3 separate regions of the Homo sapiens genome follow, and all the other regions are linked to region 1. Evidence: promoter capture Hi-C in human tissues and cell types (Jung and others, 2019). All regions are on one chromosome and are shown on one strand. The core of a region is centred on a gene start or on the middle of the fragment in contact, and the rest is flanking DNA. Distances in the headings are between cores, read along the strand shown.

Region 1 (4,270 bases), core at 758-3,257:
GACCCTGTTTCTACAAAAAAATACTAAAAATTAGCCAGGCATGGTGGCATGCACCTGTAGTCTTGGCTACTTGGGAGGCTGAGGTAGGAGGATCTGCTTGAGCCCAGGAGGTGGAGGTTGCAGTGAGCTGAGATCACACCAGCGTGCTGTGACGCACTCCAGCTTGGGCGACAGAGTGAAACTCTTATTGACTCAAGAAAAAAAAAAAAAGCTAGCTATTGTTATTATTTAGGACACACCTGGCTTTTCTTATATAGTAGATATAACAAGTTTCCCTTAATAAATGTATGTAAACTTTTAAAATGTGGATCTATTTAAAGAACAAATATTAAGTAAACAGCACAGTAAGTTGTACAAGGATGTGTCTACATTGCACAGGCAGGTGGATCCTGAAATGTGGGAAATACAGCCCCAGAGAAGTCTCCAGCCACCAGCAGCTGTTAGAAAGGGAAATCGCATGTTGGGAAGGGAATTTTAGGAAGTTTACTCTGGAAGCCAATGTCAAGGCCACACTATAGAGGAAGATCTGTGAGAAGGTTGGGACAAAAGTCCAGGAGAGAGTTGACGAGAGCCCCACCGCAGCAGGGGCATAGCAGCGGGGGCAGCTCTGACATCTGTTTCAGAGTCTCTGGCTTCTGCTAGAGGAAGGAGAGTAGAAAACAGGATCAGCAGCTGGGGCGTCTGGGGCCAGAGGACCAAGTACAAAGAACGTGGGGCGGAGGTGGGGAAGCTGGTGCATGGCGTGGGGTGGAGGGGGGAGTGTCTGGGGAAGGCTAGAGAGCAGAGCATTAGACTCACAGAGACTGGGCCAGGGCTGATTCTATTTCCCAGAAGTCCAGACTAAAATGAGGTTGGTTTGGGGAACTGAGAAGTTTCTCGCCCATCTTCAGGGTTGATCAATCATCAGTGAGGGACAAGAAATGACATGGGACAAGGCAACAGATAGAAGCTGGGAGCTAAACTTAGCTATAACTGACAGAGCTGCTGCTATCACATGGAGGGCCTCTATGCAAATTTTAAAAGGGCGGCCCTTCCTCTGGGCCATAGGCATGCCCTGTGCCAGGCAGCCCTGCTAACCTATCCCATAGCTTATCTGTGCCCCCAATCCCTTTCTCGTCATGCACTCCCCAGTATGGGGTTGATGGGGAGTCTAGGTGAGTCCCGCGTCTCACCTTTCAGGATGGCCTGCAGCGAGGCCACCTCCTCTTGGCACTGCCGCTGCACCGCAGCCACAGCCTCGGCCTTCGTGCTCTCGCTCACCTCTGCCACAGCCTTCATGGTTTCCATTTCTGCCAGGGCGCCTGCCAGCTCAGCCCGAAGCCGGCTGAGCTCACCTGACTCGGCCTCACCATTTGCCCCTTCCTGGGACCGGGAGTCCTCCAGTGCTGTGGGGGACAGGGATCAGCCTCTCTTCCCATCTCTTACCCCAGGCCACCTACCGGCTTAGCAAGTCCTGCAACCTAGTACTGTTGCCTTCATCTGGGGCCTCCTTCACCTGGGCCCGCCCGGCTCACCTGGCCCCGCCCCTGCCCCGCCCCCTTCCCACTCGCTCTGCCGGGTGCTGCCTACACTCCATCTCTTCGCGGTGGCCAGTTTCACTCAGTCCTCTCTTCGGTCCCACCTGGCCCCGCCCTCCTAGTGGCCGCGCCCCTTCCTCACCGGGCCCCACTTCGCACCTGTCACTGGCCCTACCCCTTCAATGGCCGGGCCACGCCCCCTTTTGCCTGTGGCTGTAGGCCCCGCCCCCTTTCCCGACGGCGTGGCCCCGCCCCTTCCTCCATCATCCCTCTCCACCCCCCATCCGCAGGTGGCTGGCTCGGCCCCGCCCCCAGCATCACCGTTCCCCGCTTGCACGGACGCCCCCTCACGTACCAGCCCCCGGCCGCCGCCGCCGCTCATCGTCGTCCGCGGCCACCGGCGCAGCTGCCGCCATTGCCTCAGCGCAAACGGCGGATTCCCGCACTCCCTGGTGACGGAGCGCACCGCTTCCGGGTCCTCTCGGCTGTTTCCGGATCCGCTCGGCTGTTTCCGGATCGGCCCCGGGCTGGAGGCCCCGGACGGAGGATGGGGGGATTGCCGAGCCTCGGCCGAAGATTCCCGAGTCGGCCCCCGGCCCCGGCCCCGGCCCCGCCCCGGCTCTTCTTGGCTGGGTCGCGCGGTTCGGGAGGACGCCTGCCTTTCAAGCCCGGAAGAGGATCCTTAAGAGGTCTTGCCCGGCGTCTCTCCGTGACCTTGGAAGCCCTGCTCCAATTATGCCTCCTCCGGGACACCGGCCTGCGGAGAGCTCCCCCTCGCTCCCTCGCTGCCCCTGCCCGGAGCCAGCCTTTGATCGGCTCCGGCCGCCCTTCCGCCCGAGCCTGGCTTGCGTTACCGCGAATTGTGGCGGGGCCCTCCCTGCACCTCCGCCCTCTTGGAGCGTCCCTCGGGGCAGGGCCGGGTCGGCTTCATTTTTCTGAGCGCCTCGGAGTCCCCGCGTAGTTAGTCGGAGTCTGAAACTTGCACGTCCCCACCCCCATTTTGTTACTCAGCCAGTCACCGCTTCCTGCTGGCCCCCCTTTCCTCCTCCCAACGCCCTCAAATCCCTCCTCTCCTCTCCGCCTGTGTCTAGATCAGGCTCTTTATCTGTGACCTCCACCCGGACGGTGACAGGCAATTCAGATTTATGTCCAGAGCCTTGGTTCCCCTTCCCTCAAACCTTTTTTCCCTCTGTAAAGGACACGCCAGGAACCTGGAAGTCCTTGATTCTACGTGTCCTCCTGCAAGTCCCGTAAACTCTACTTCCAATGTGCTGACTATTCCAGAATGTGCCCCTTTTTCTCCATCTCCAGCGCTAACACTCCGTCCCAGCTCCCATCACTTCTCCTGAACTTCCGCAGTGTCGACTCCACCCTTTAATTAATTAATTCTCCGTAAAGCAGCTGGAGCGATTTTTGTAAAACAGATAATGCAGTTTGAAAATGGCCAAAGGTAGAACGCTTTTACACTGTTGGTGGGAATGTAAATTAGTTCAACCATTGTGGAAGACAGTGTGGTGATTCCTCAAAGACCTAGAACCAGAAATACCATTTGACCCAGAAATCCCATTACTGGGTATATACCTAAAGGAATATAAATCATTCTATTACAAAGATACATGCACGAGTATGTTCATTGAAGCACTATTCAAAATAGCAAAGACATGGACTCAACCCAAATGCCCATCAATGATAGACTGGATAAAGAAAATGTGGTACATATACACCATGGAATACTATACAGCCATAAAAAGGAACGAGATCATGTCCTTTGCAGGGACATGGATGAAGCTAGAAGCTATTATCCTCAGCAAATTAATGCAGCAACAGAAAGCTAAACATGCATGTTCTCACTTATAAGTGGGAGCTGAACAATGAGAACACATGGACACAGGGAGGGGACCAACACACATGGGGGCCTGTGGGGTGGGTGTTGGGAGGGGGGAGGGAGAGCATCAGCAAGAGTAGCTAATGCATCCTGGGCTTGATACCTAGGTGATGGGTTAATGGGTGCGGTAAACTACCATGGCAGATGTTTCCCTGTGTAACAAACCTGCACATCGTGCACATGTACCCCAGAACTTGAAATAAAGAAAATGGACAAAGGATATGAACGGATATTTCACTGCTGTCACAGGTGGCAATATGTGCATGAAAAGATGTTAAACATCATTAGCTATTTATTCGGGAAATACAAATTAAAACCACAATTGCTTTCATCACTACGCACTTCTTGGAATGGCTAAAATAAGAATGCTAACACCAAATGCTGGTGAGTATGTGGAGAAACTAGGTTTCTCATATTTTGTTGATGGGAATGTGAAATGGTATAGCCACTCTGCAAAAAGAGTATGGCAGTTTTGAACAAAACTAAACACGCACTTACTTTTTCATCAAGTATAAAACCAAGTGTTTTCCACCAAGCTTGGAGCTGAGGTCTCGGCTCAAATGTTACCTCCTCAGTGAGGCCTTCCCTGATCACCCTAACTAAAATAACCACCTCTGGCTGAGTGTGGTGGCTTATGCCTATAATGCTAGCACTTTAGGAGGCCAATGGCAGGAGGATCACTTGAGCCCAGGGGTTCGAGACCAGCCTGAACAACATAGTGAGACCTCATCTCTACAAAAAATTAAAAAATTAGCTGGGCATGGCCGGACACGGTGGCTCACGCCTGTAATCCCAGCACTTTGGGAGGCTGAGGAGGGCGGATCACGAGGTTAGGAGATCAAGACCATCCTGGCTAACATGGTGAAAC
Region 2 (4,036 bases), core at 835-3,334, 1.5 Mb after region 1:
ATGGTGAAACCCCGTCTCTACAAAAAATACAAAAATAGCCCGGTGTGGTGGTGTGTGCCTGTAATCCTAGCTACTTGGGAGGCTGAGGCAGGAGAATCACTTGAACCTGGGAAGCGGAGGTTGCAGTGAGCCTAGACTGTGCTATTGCACTCCAACCTGGGCGACAGAGCAAGACTCCATCTCAAAAAAAAAAAAAAAAAAAAAAAAAAACTCAGAGAATGAATGCAAAGTGGCTTTTGGGGATCCTGTGTGTGAGTATCCAGGCATTTGACCCCTTCTCCCAGCTCTGGGAAAGAGCCAGTTTTATAACTTCATTCCTGAGAGGTAATTTGGTGCAATAGAAGAGCACAAGCTTTGAATCTGCTGCTTGCCAGCTGTGTGACTTTGAGCAAATTACTTAACTTGTCTAAGCTTCCGTTTCTTCTTTTGTCCAATGGAGATATTATTGATCCCAACAGGGCTGTTGTAAAGAGACAACATAGAACTTGTAAGCACTTACTGAATGTTATTTCTGTTTTCCTTCATGATTTCTGAATCTTAGTTGCCCCATTCATAAAATGGGAAAATTAGATATCTGCTTTTTCAAGGGAAGTGGCTGTTTTTCAAAGGAAGTGGCATTTGTTTATTCCACTAAAAAAAAATCTATTTTTATATGAAATATCCCAATTTAATTTTTTTTTTCTTGAGACGGAGTTTCGCTCTTGTTGCCTAGGCTGGAGACCAATGGCATGATCTCGGCTCACTGCAACCACTGCCTCCCCAGTTCAAGCAATTCTCGTGCCTCAGCCTCTCGAGTAGCTGGGATTACAGGCATGCACCACCAAGCTTGGCTAATTTTTGTATTTTTAGTAGAGACGGGGTTTCACCATGTTGGTTAGGCTGGTCTCGAAATCCTGACCTCAAGTGATCCACCGGCCTCCGCCTCCCAAAGTGCTGGGATTACAGGCATGAGCCACCGCGCCCGGCTTTGAAACGATTTTTTTTTTTTTTTTTTTTTTTTTTTTTTGAGACGGAGTCTCGCTCTGTCGCCCAGGCTGGAGCGCAGTGGCGCGATCTCGGCTAACTGCAAGCTCGCCTCCCGGGTTCACGCCATTCTCCTGTCTCAGCCTCCCGAGTAGCTGGCACTACAGGTGCCCGCCACCACGCCCAGCTAATTTTTTGTATTTTGTTTAGTAGAGTCGGGGTTTCACCGTGTTAGCCAGGATGGTCTCTATCTCCTGACCTCGTGATCCGCCCGCCTCGGCCTCCTAAAGTGCTGGGATTACAGGCGTGAGCCGCCGTGCCCGTCCGAAAAGATTTTTTAAAAGTAAAAATACCCTAAGGGCCAAACAAGGTACCCCTGTGGACTGGATTTAGCTTTGGGCTGTTGTTCACCTAGGCTACTGATTGTCAGGGATGCTATGACATCCTTATCGTGTAACTTAGGCAAATCAGTTTACCTCCCTGAACTTCAGTGAGCTCATCTGTAAAATGGATCAGGACCCATCGTTATGCGGATCAAATGAGACCAGGTATGTAAGACGCTGAACAGCGCTGGCGCATGGTAAGCACCCCACGCATGACGCGACAGCGGTAGCTTGGGTGGATGTTGAATTGGTTAGGATGTATTCAAGGATATCCCAGAGGCCAGCGGAATAGGCGAAGCCGAGAAAGATGGAGAAAAGACGGCAGAGGAGATAAAGAGGGAATGGAAGAAGTGAGGAGGCAACAGGGTCCGCCCTCCAGGCGGGGCGCCAGGGAGAGGCCCAGGCCGGGGCGGGAGCGCACGTGGCCTATTTCGGGCGGAGCAGAGGCACTGGGCGCAGCGGAGACCTCCAAGCCGGCCCCAGGAGACGGGCCGCGAGGTTAGGTTGGAACTCGGCGGCAAGGACCTTGAACGCCGGGCTGGGGCGGCTCCAGGTGCTTGGGAGTCGGGGGACTGCGGAGGACGCCAAGTCTGAGCTCGCCGCCCTCTCCGAGCCGTTTGGGCCGGACGCCTGGGTCCTTCGGGCTCCGCCCCAGGGGGTGGGGCTATATGTTCGGACCAATGACCGGCCGTCCCTGCGGTCCCGCCCCCTCCCCGCCCCCGGAGCCGCGGCCTCGCTGAGTGCCCAGCCGCCCGGCGCCCAGGCCTGGGGCACCGCGAGTGCCGAACCTTCGGCTGGTGAGTGCGCACCCCCTCCCCGGGGTTTCCGCCCCGATCCCGCCTCCAGCCCGTGCCCCAGAGCTCCAGGTCGCCGACCCGGGCCCTGGGGAGTGACTCAGCGCAAGGATGGTGGCGACTTGCGGGGGCTGGAGATTCGAACTGTTCAAGGCCTTGAATGCTGGGATGAGTGGGGTGAACGCGAGCCCTCGGAGCTGGTCCCGGGGCTGTGCCAGAGCGTGGGGCCGGGCTGGGGTGGACGGGAGAGGACCAGATTCGGAGACCAGGGCAGGGCGGGAGAAGCCACGGCTGCACTGCCTTGCTGGGCCAGGGCCACGGTGGGCGGGGGGGGGGGTGGGGGGGGGCGGGTCCTGAGCTTCTGATCCAGCTCCCCGCCTCAGGACACCAAGATGCCTGGCGAACAGCAGGCAGAGGAAGAGGAGGAGGAAGAGATGCAGGAGGAGATGGTGCTGCTGGTGAAGGGTGAGGAGGATGAGGGTGAGGAGAAGTATGAGGTGGTGAAACTCAAGATCCCCATGGACAACAAGGAGGTATGTGTCACACACACCCTGGGGCACACTGTCCCCAAACCTGGTCCAGGCCCAGCCTCCCTCAGATAGAAGCCAGGGATCTTGCCCCTACTTTTCCCAGAATCTCGGATCTAAAACCTCAGGATTGGCCCATCCTTCTGCCCTACTGCCTGGGCTTCCATCATACAAAAGTCACGCCTACTGTCCCAGGCTTCCTGCTGGGTGCAGGAGATTAAACTCCGTCCTTGGATCCCCCATGGAGCTTGATGTTAGACTGAAGGGTAACCACACAGTTAGAATCCCGTGTGATGGCTGCAGGTACAGGGGGATGATGAAGCCTAGAAGTGGGAACTTAACTCAGATTTAGAGGTTGGGGAAAGGTCAGGTTAGTTCAACAGCAACAGTAACAATAGCTAACCCTTGCCTAGCATTTTCTATGTGCCAGGCACTGTTCTAAGCACCTCGATTCTATGATGTCGGTAGCATTTATTCCATTTTACAGATGAGGAGACTGAGGCCCAGGGCAGTTTGGTAACTGGCCACAGGTCTCAAAGTAAAAGGATGGCTTATGTGAGACTAGTAGGAGTCTGGGGTCAGAAGTGGGGTGATGGACCCAGTCAGAGGAAATGGCTCTTTTATTATTACTGTTGTTATTGTTTGAGACAGGGTCTCATTCAGTCACCCAAGCTGTAGTGCAGTACAGCTCACTGCAGCCTTGACTTCCCTGGGCTCAGGTGATCCTCCCACCTCAGCCTCCCAAGTAGCTGGGACTACAGGCATGCACCACTACACCTGGCTAATTTTTTTTTGTTTTGTTTTGAGACAGAGTTTCGCTCTGTTGCCCAGGCTGGAGTGCAGTGGCGTGATCTCGGCTCACTGCAGCCTCCACCTCCCGGGTTCAAGTGGTTCTCCTACCTCAGCCTCCCAAGAAGCTGGGATTACAGGCATGCACCACCACGCCCGGCTAATTTTTTGTATTTTCAGTAGAGTTGGGGTTTTGCCATGTTGGCCAGACTGGTCTCAAACTCCTGAGTTCAGGTGATCCTCCCACCTCAGCCTCCCAAAGTGCTGGGATTATAGGTGTGAGCCACCGTATCCAGCCAGAAATGGCCCTTATAGAGGCTCAGACGAGTGAGTAGTGCACTGCAGCAGTGAGGGTGGGTGGTTCGGTCATGCTGTAGTGTGGATGAGTGGGGGTGGTTGGCAGGCCACACAGGGAGTCTGGCTTTTATTCTGAGGGTATTTGAAGGTTTTGAGATCAGAATATGAGTTAAATTTCACCCCCTGGAGACCCTAACTGCCACCAGATACGTTTCCGCTTCTCAGAACCCCAGAGGATTCTGTCTGCCCCCAGCCTGAGCAGCCCTGAGTACCAGCAGAGGGC
Region 3 (4,202 bases), core at 285-2,784, 1.8 Mb after region 1:
CGCCTGAGCCTCAATTCGTTTGTAAAATGGAGCAGTTAGGATTAAAAGAAATAATCAAGGCACCAAGTAGTGTCAGTAGAAGGTAGCTGTTATTTATTGTTCTATTCTGGGGTAAAGGTATCAGATTCTCAAAGGGATTCTTAATCTAGAAAGTTTGCGAAGAGATGGCAAAGGTGTTTGAAAGCTATCAGGAAACCATCCTCGCGTAAAACGAAGCAGCGCTACAGAAGTGGGCTGCCATGGGAATCGGGAGGCCCAGGTTCCACTGCTAACTTGCTGCAGCTTACTGGGTGATCTGTAAATAAAAAGGGAGGTGGCGGTGGTCCGAGCTGGCAGCCGCAATGCAGCCCCAGGTAGATCTAGGGGCAAACGGTAAAGGCGCTCCGAGGAAGGGCGAGCGCGCAGCCTCTGGGAGACTACACCTCCCAGGCTGCCTTGCGCACCGTGCTGCACCCTACGCTAGCACGCGAGCCTCCCCGTTCCCCCACCCTCCAGTTACTGTCTCTCGCGAGAAGACGGGCCGCGCCGGCGATAGCGATTCCGAGCGAGTGGTGGTGGTAGTGGTGGTGGTGGCGGCCGAGACGGCGGCGGCCATTTTGGTGAGGCCTCGGGAGCGGCAGCGGCGGTTCGCTGGGAGTAGCGTCTGCCCTTTTTCCCACCCACCGTCCGCATCTGTGTGCTGCGCGAAGAGGCAGTGGAGGCAAGGCGGTGGCAGTAGCCGCAGTCTCCAGGGGAGTTTAAAGGCCGCGAAGGCGGTGGCCAAGAGGGGGCCCTCCCCCCTCCTAGGCGGGAGGGGGGGTGGTGCGCACGCCCCCGAGGACGCAGGTAAGGAGAGGGAGACAAGATGGCGAACGCCCCACAGTTCCCCCTCCCATGACGGCTGACTGCGCGCGCATCTTTCCGCCACCGCCTCCCCCCCACCTTCCCGGGGTGCTGCGCGCGCACCCTCAGCCGGGGCCCCGGGGCCGGTGCGCGAGGCTGTCGGCGCGCGCCCATAGAGACAGACTGAGGGGGTCAGGCCGGCCGGCGCTGGGCCCCGGCGTGTCTCCTCTCCCTTCCCGCCCTTCTGCGCACGCGTGCCTGAGCGAGCGAGCGAGCGAGCGAGCCCTGAGAGGACGGACCCAGGTGCGCTCCTGCCCGCCCACCAACCCAGTCACCCCTCAGGGGCGCGCGGGAAGAGGAAGGGGGGCGTGGGACGAGTAGTCGGGGCGCGCGCCCACCACATCTAGCCGGGGGACCAGGACCTGGTGGCACGAACCCTCCCTTCTCTCAGCCTTTCGCGGTCGGGTGATGGGGGGGCTCCCTGACGGGCTTGGATGACGAGCTTCCCAGCCCCGCGACCCTTGTGTGCGTGGGCTCGGGTTCTGGCGGGAGCCCCTGGGCCGTGCGCGCAGCCGGCTCGCTCCGCCTCCAGCCGCGCACGCGCGGGCCCCTCCCCCGCCCGGCGCGCACGTTGGGTGGGGTGGGAGTCTGGAGGGGGCGGGGCTATCTCAGGGCTAGTGGCAACTTGGGCAGAGGTCAGGGGTCACGCGAGGTCAGTCCGTCGGGAGGGCTAGGGAGATGGTCACGAAACCTGAAGTCAAGAGTTAAGGCTTGTTGGCTTCTGGTGAGCTCGGGTCTTGGGAACGTGTGGCGGAGTAGGGAGTGAATCAAAGCCGGCACTGTGGTTTAGGAATTTCCTTAAACACTGGGGAAGCATTTCCGGGCCTCCTGCGGGTTCACACTGCCTGTTTCCGGCGCGTGGTTCTTGGCAGTGCGGCCTCTCGCTTTTGACTGCTCCTGAGTCTCCTTTTGCTGTGGTTCTTGTATTTGGGGAAGTGTCTCAAGGCGCAGGTATGGGATATACAGCGCCCTGCCCTGAATCCTGGGCGGATTTTCCTGTGACCAGCCTGTTTGTTGACTCTTCCCGGGAGTTCCACTCTCACTTCTGCGTTCAGCCCTCACTGGAAAGGCCCGCAGGCAGGTAGCACCTTTCTGAGGTTCTGGATGTGACAGCTTTTTTTTGCTGTATTTTTTTTTTGTCTTCCATTCTGTGGTTGGAGCCTTTACACTTAAAATTTTTGAACTTTCTTTCTTCACTCCTTTCCTGCTCCTGCCCCCAGGCAGGATCGTATGTCCCTCCGGAATTCACAAAACATGATTTGCATTTCCCTGAAATGTGAGATTTTCCTACTACTGTAGTTTTTCTGTTTCTAGTCTTTTAACTGATTTGGGTATATTTAAACGTCTCAAAAAACTGGAGTAAATAATACGCTTTGATGGATGTTTCAGGTGTGATTCCCTTCAGTACGGCGGCACCGTGGAAGTGCAGACTTTCACAGGGGGTGTGGTCTCAGCTCACACAGGTGAGGGATCTGCTACCATTTTGTGTGCTGATGCTAATGGGAGAAATGTTTGAGATAAAGCAATTATAGGTCCGTATTGGGGATTTTCACTCTAGAGAAGCATGGGAATGTTTGCATGTGATTTTTCTGTAGAGGGTTTGATTATAGTACAACAACAGAACTGAGGCTGTGGGTTGAGGAAAACGTGGTCAACCTGGCTCTACCAGGAAGAGTAGCAGGTTTTCCTTGGTTTTGGCATCAGACTGTGGATTGAAGCCCTCCTATCACTTTTTTACTGTGTAACCTTCCGCAAATCATAAGGTCTTAACTTCGTAACTTACAAAACAGATTATATTAGAATGTAAGCTACATTTAGGTCGGGAATCCTTTCTGCATGGCTATATCCGTTGTGTGTAGGAGGAAGTCAATATTTGTTATGCTGTGAAAAGCACTTGGTTTTTAAGGTAGGTGTGAGGATTATAGAACACATCAAACAGGTACTAAAAGTATCTTATACATAGTAAGTGCTCAAGAAATGTAACCTGTAATTTCTGTGTTTCTCTTTATTCAGTGTTATTTCTGGTTTTTTAAAAATACTTTTTCATCCCCTTTAACTGCATTTCTGTCTTTTTTTTTTTTTTTAACCCTACTTTAGGTGCTCCAGAGGCTGGTGGACCTGAGCGGAGGCTGGGACGCCCTGGTGGGCCCCGGGCCCTGGAAGGCGGGTCCCGGTGGCCGGTGGCCCAGAATGAGGCCAGCTCCCAGCATGCCCTGCAGCCGGACGCCAGCCCCTCGGCCAGCAGTACTGGTGATAACAACCCAGTCATTCTTCAGGCATCCAAGGGGGAGCCTGGGAGTGGGACCATGCAGAGCAGCCCCTCCCCTGCTCACCCTCAGCTCCCAGTCCTACAGACACAGGTTTGAAAGTGGGAAGAGTTCCTTCTCTGCTTCTGCTTTGTGGATTGTTGAGTGTGAGGCAGAAGAAATGTGGCAGGGGAATATTTGTGGAGAGTTTTGGAGAATCTTTGGTGCTCGGGGGCTGGGCTGTAGTATATCAGGTCTGTTGGATACTCACATTCCATTTAACATTAGTGTAATATTATCTCCAAGAGTGTAAAAGCGCCTCGTTACCTGAAAAAGGTTGAATTAGGCTAGGCTGGAAATGGAGGTCGTGGCACCATGCTTCTAATACCATACGCTTTAAGAATAGTTTAACTTCTATCAGTACTGGAGTAGGATAAGCCTATGGATGGTGTGTAGTGTTCATTCCTTTCTCATACCAAGGAAGGGTGTGGGGTAGGAAAAAAAGCATGACTTTTAAACACATCTAGGTGTGTGTACAGTCAGCTTTCTATTTTAATTTTTTAAATTTTTCTATAAAAAGGGTTTCTTTATTGTGTCATCCTTGCACAGGGGCCATGCTAATCTTTTCTGTATCCTCCCAGTTTTAGTATATGTGTTGCCAAAGTGAGCAGTACAGTAAGCTTTTCATGTTTGTAAAGTTGGTATTTATAGTTTTCCTGAGAAACTGGGGAAATTTGTGACATACAGTCTTGTCATTTAGCCGAGGTAGGAATTTGAGTGGCGCAGTGTAAGGCTTATGTCCTGGAGTGAATTTGTGAATTCCCTGAGTATCCACCTTTCAGTAGGACTTTGTTTTCCATTTTTTTCTTTTCTTTTTTTTTTTTTTTGAAATGGAGTGTCTTTCAGCCAGGCTGGAATGCAATGGCGCGATCTCGGCTCACTGCAACCTCCGCCTCCTGATTTCAAACAGTTCTCCTGCCTCAGCCTTGCGAGTAGCTGGGATTATAGGCACCCACCATCATGCCTGGCTAGTTTTTATATTTTTGTAGAGATGGGGTTTCACCATCATGTTGG

Evidence for each region. The method cuts DNA at HindIII sites, captures the fragments that hold promoters and counts their contacts. A contact is called where the count stands out against the background at its distance.
Region 2: a contact is called between the fragment with the promoter of ZNF771 here and the fragment with the promoter of RABEP2 in region 1, in 1 of the 25 tissues and cell types used here (small bowel).
Region 3: the fragment with the promoter of SRCAP here is called in contact with the fragment with the promoter of RABEP2 in region 1 in 1 of the 25 tissues and cell types used here (stomach).

Annotation. Positions count from the first base shown.
Region 1 is chr16:28,923,231-28,927,500 of GRCh38, forward strand. RABEP2 (rabaptin, RAB GTPase binding effector protein 2) reads right to left here and starts at 2,008. Exons shown (of 13, transcript NM_024816.3): 1 at 1,873-2,008; 2 at 1,173-1,385. The coding sequence starts at 1,933. RefSeq lists enhancers at 1,140-1,229, 1,260-1,489, 2,468-3,051 and silencers at 1,650-1,869, 1,900-2,249. The HindIII fragment of the contact is 23,237 bases long and covers 1-4,270 here.
Region 2 is chr16:30,405,522-30,409,557 of GRCh38, forward strand. ZNF771 (zinc finger protein 771) reads left to right here and starts at 2,085. Exons shown (of 3, transcript NM_001142305.2): 1 at 2,085-2,143; 2 at 2,524-2,673. The coding sequence starts at 2,533. RefSeq lists silencers at 1,809-1,988, 2,011-2,220. The HindIII fragment of the contact is 10,608 bases long and covers 619-4,036 here.
Region 3 is chr16:30,697,637-30,701,838 of GRCh38, forward strand. It overlaps SRCAP (Snf2 related CREBBP activator protein), which reads left to right and starts at 1,535. Exons shown (of 34, transcript NM_006662.3): 1 at 1,535-1,606; 2 at 2,272-2,345; 3 at 2,980-3,242. The coding sequence starts at 3,189. LOC730183 (a long non-coding RNA gene) reads right to left here and starts at 1,424. Exons shown (of 2, transcript NR_144637.2): 1 at 1,245-1,424; 2 at 71-295. It also overlaps the pseudogene RNU6-1043P. RefSeq lists enhancers at 346-435, 466-655, 1,312-1,606 and silencers at 776-1,185, 1,326-1,555. The HindIII fragment of the contact is 12,049 bases long and covers 1-4,202 here.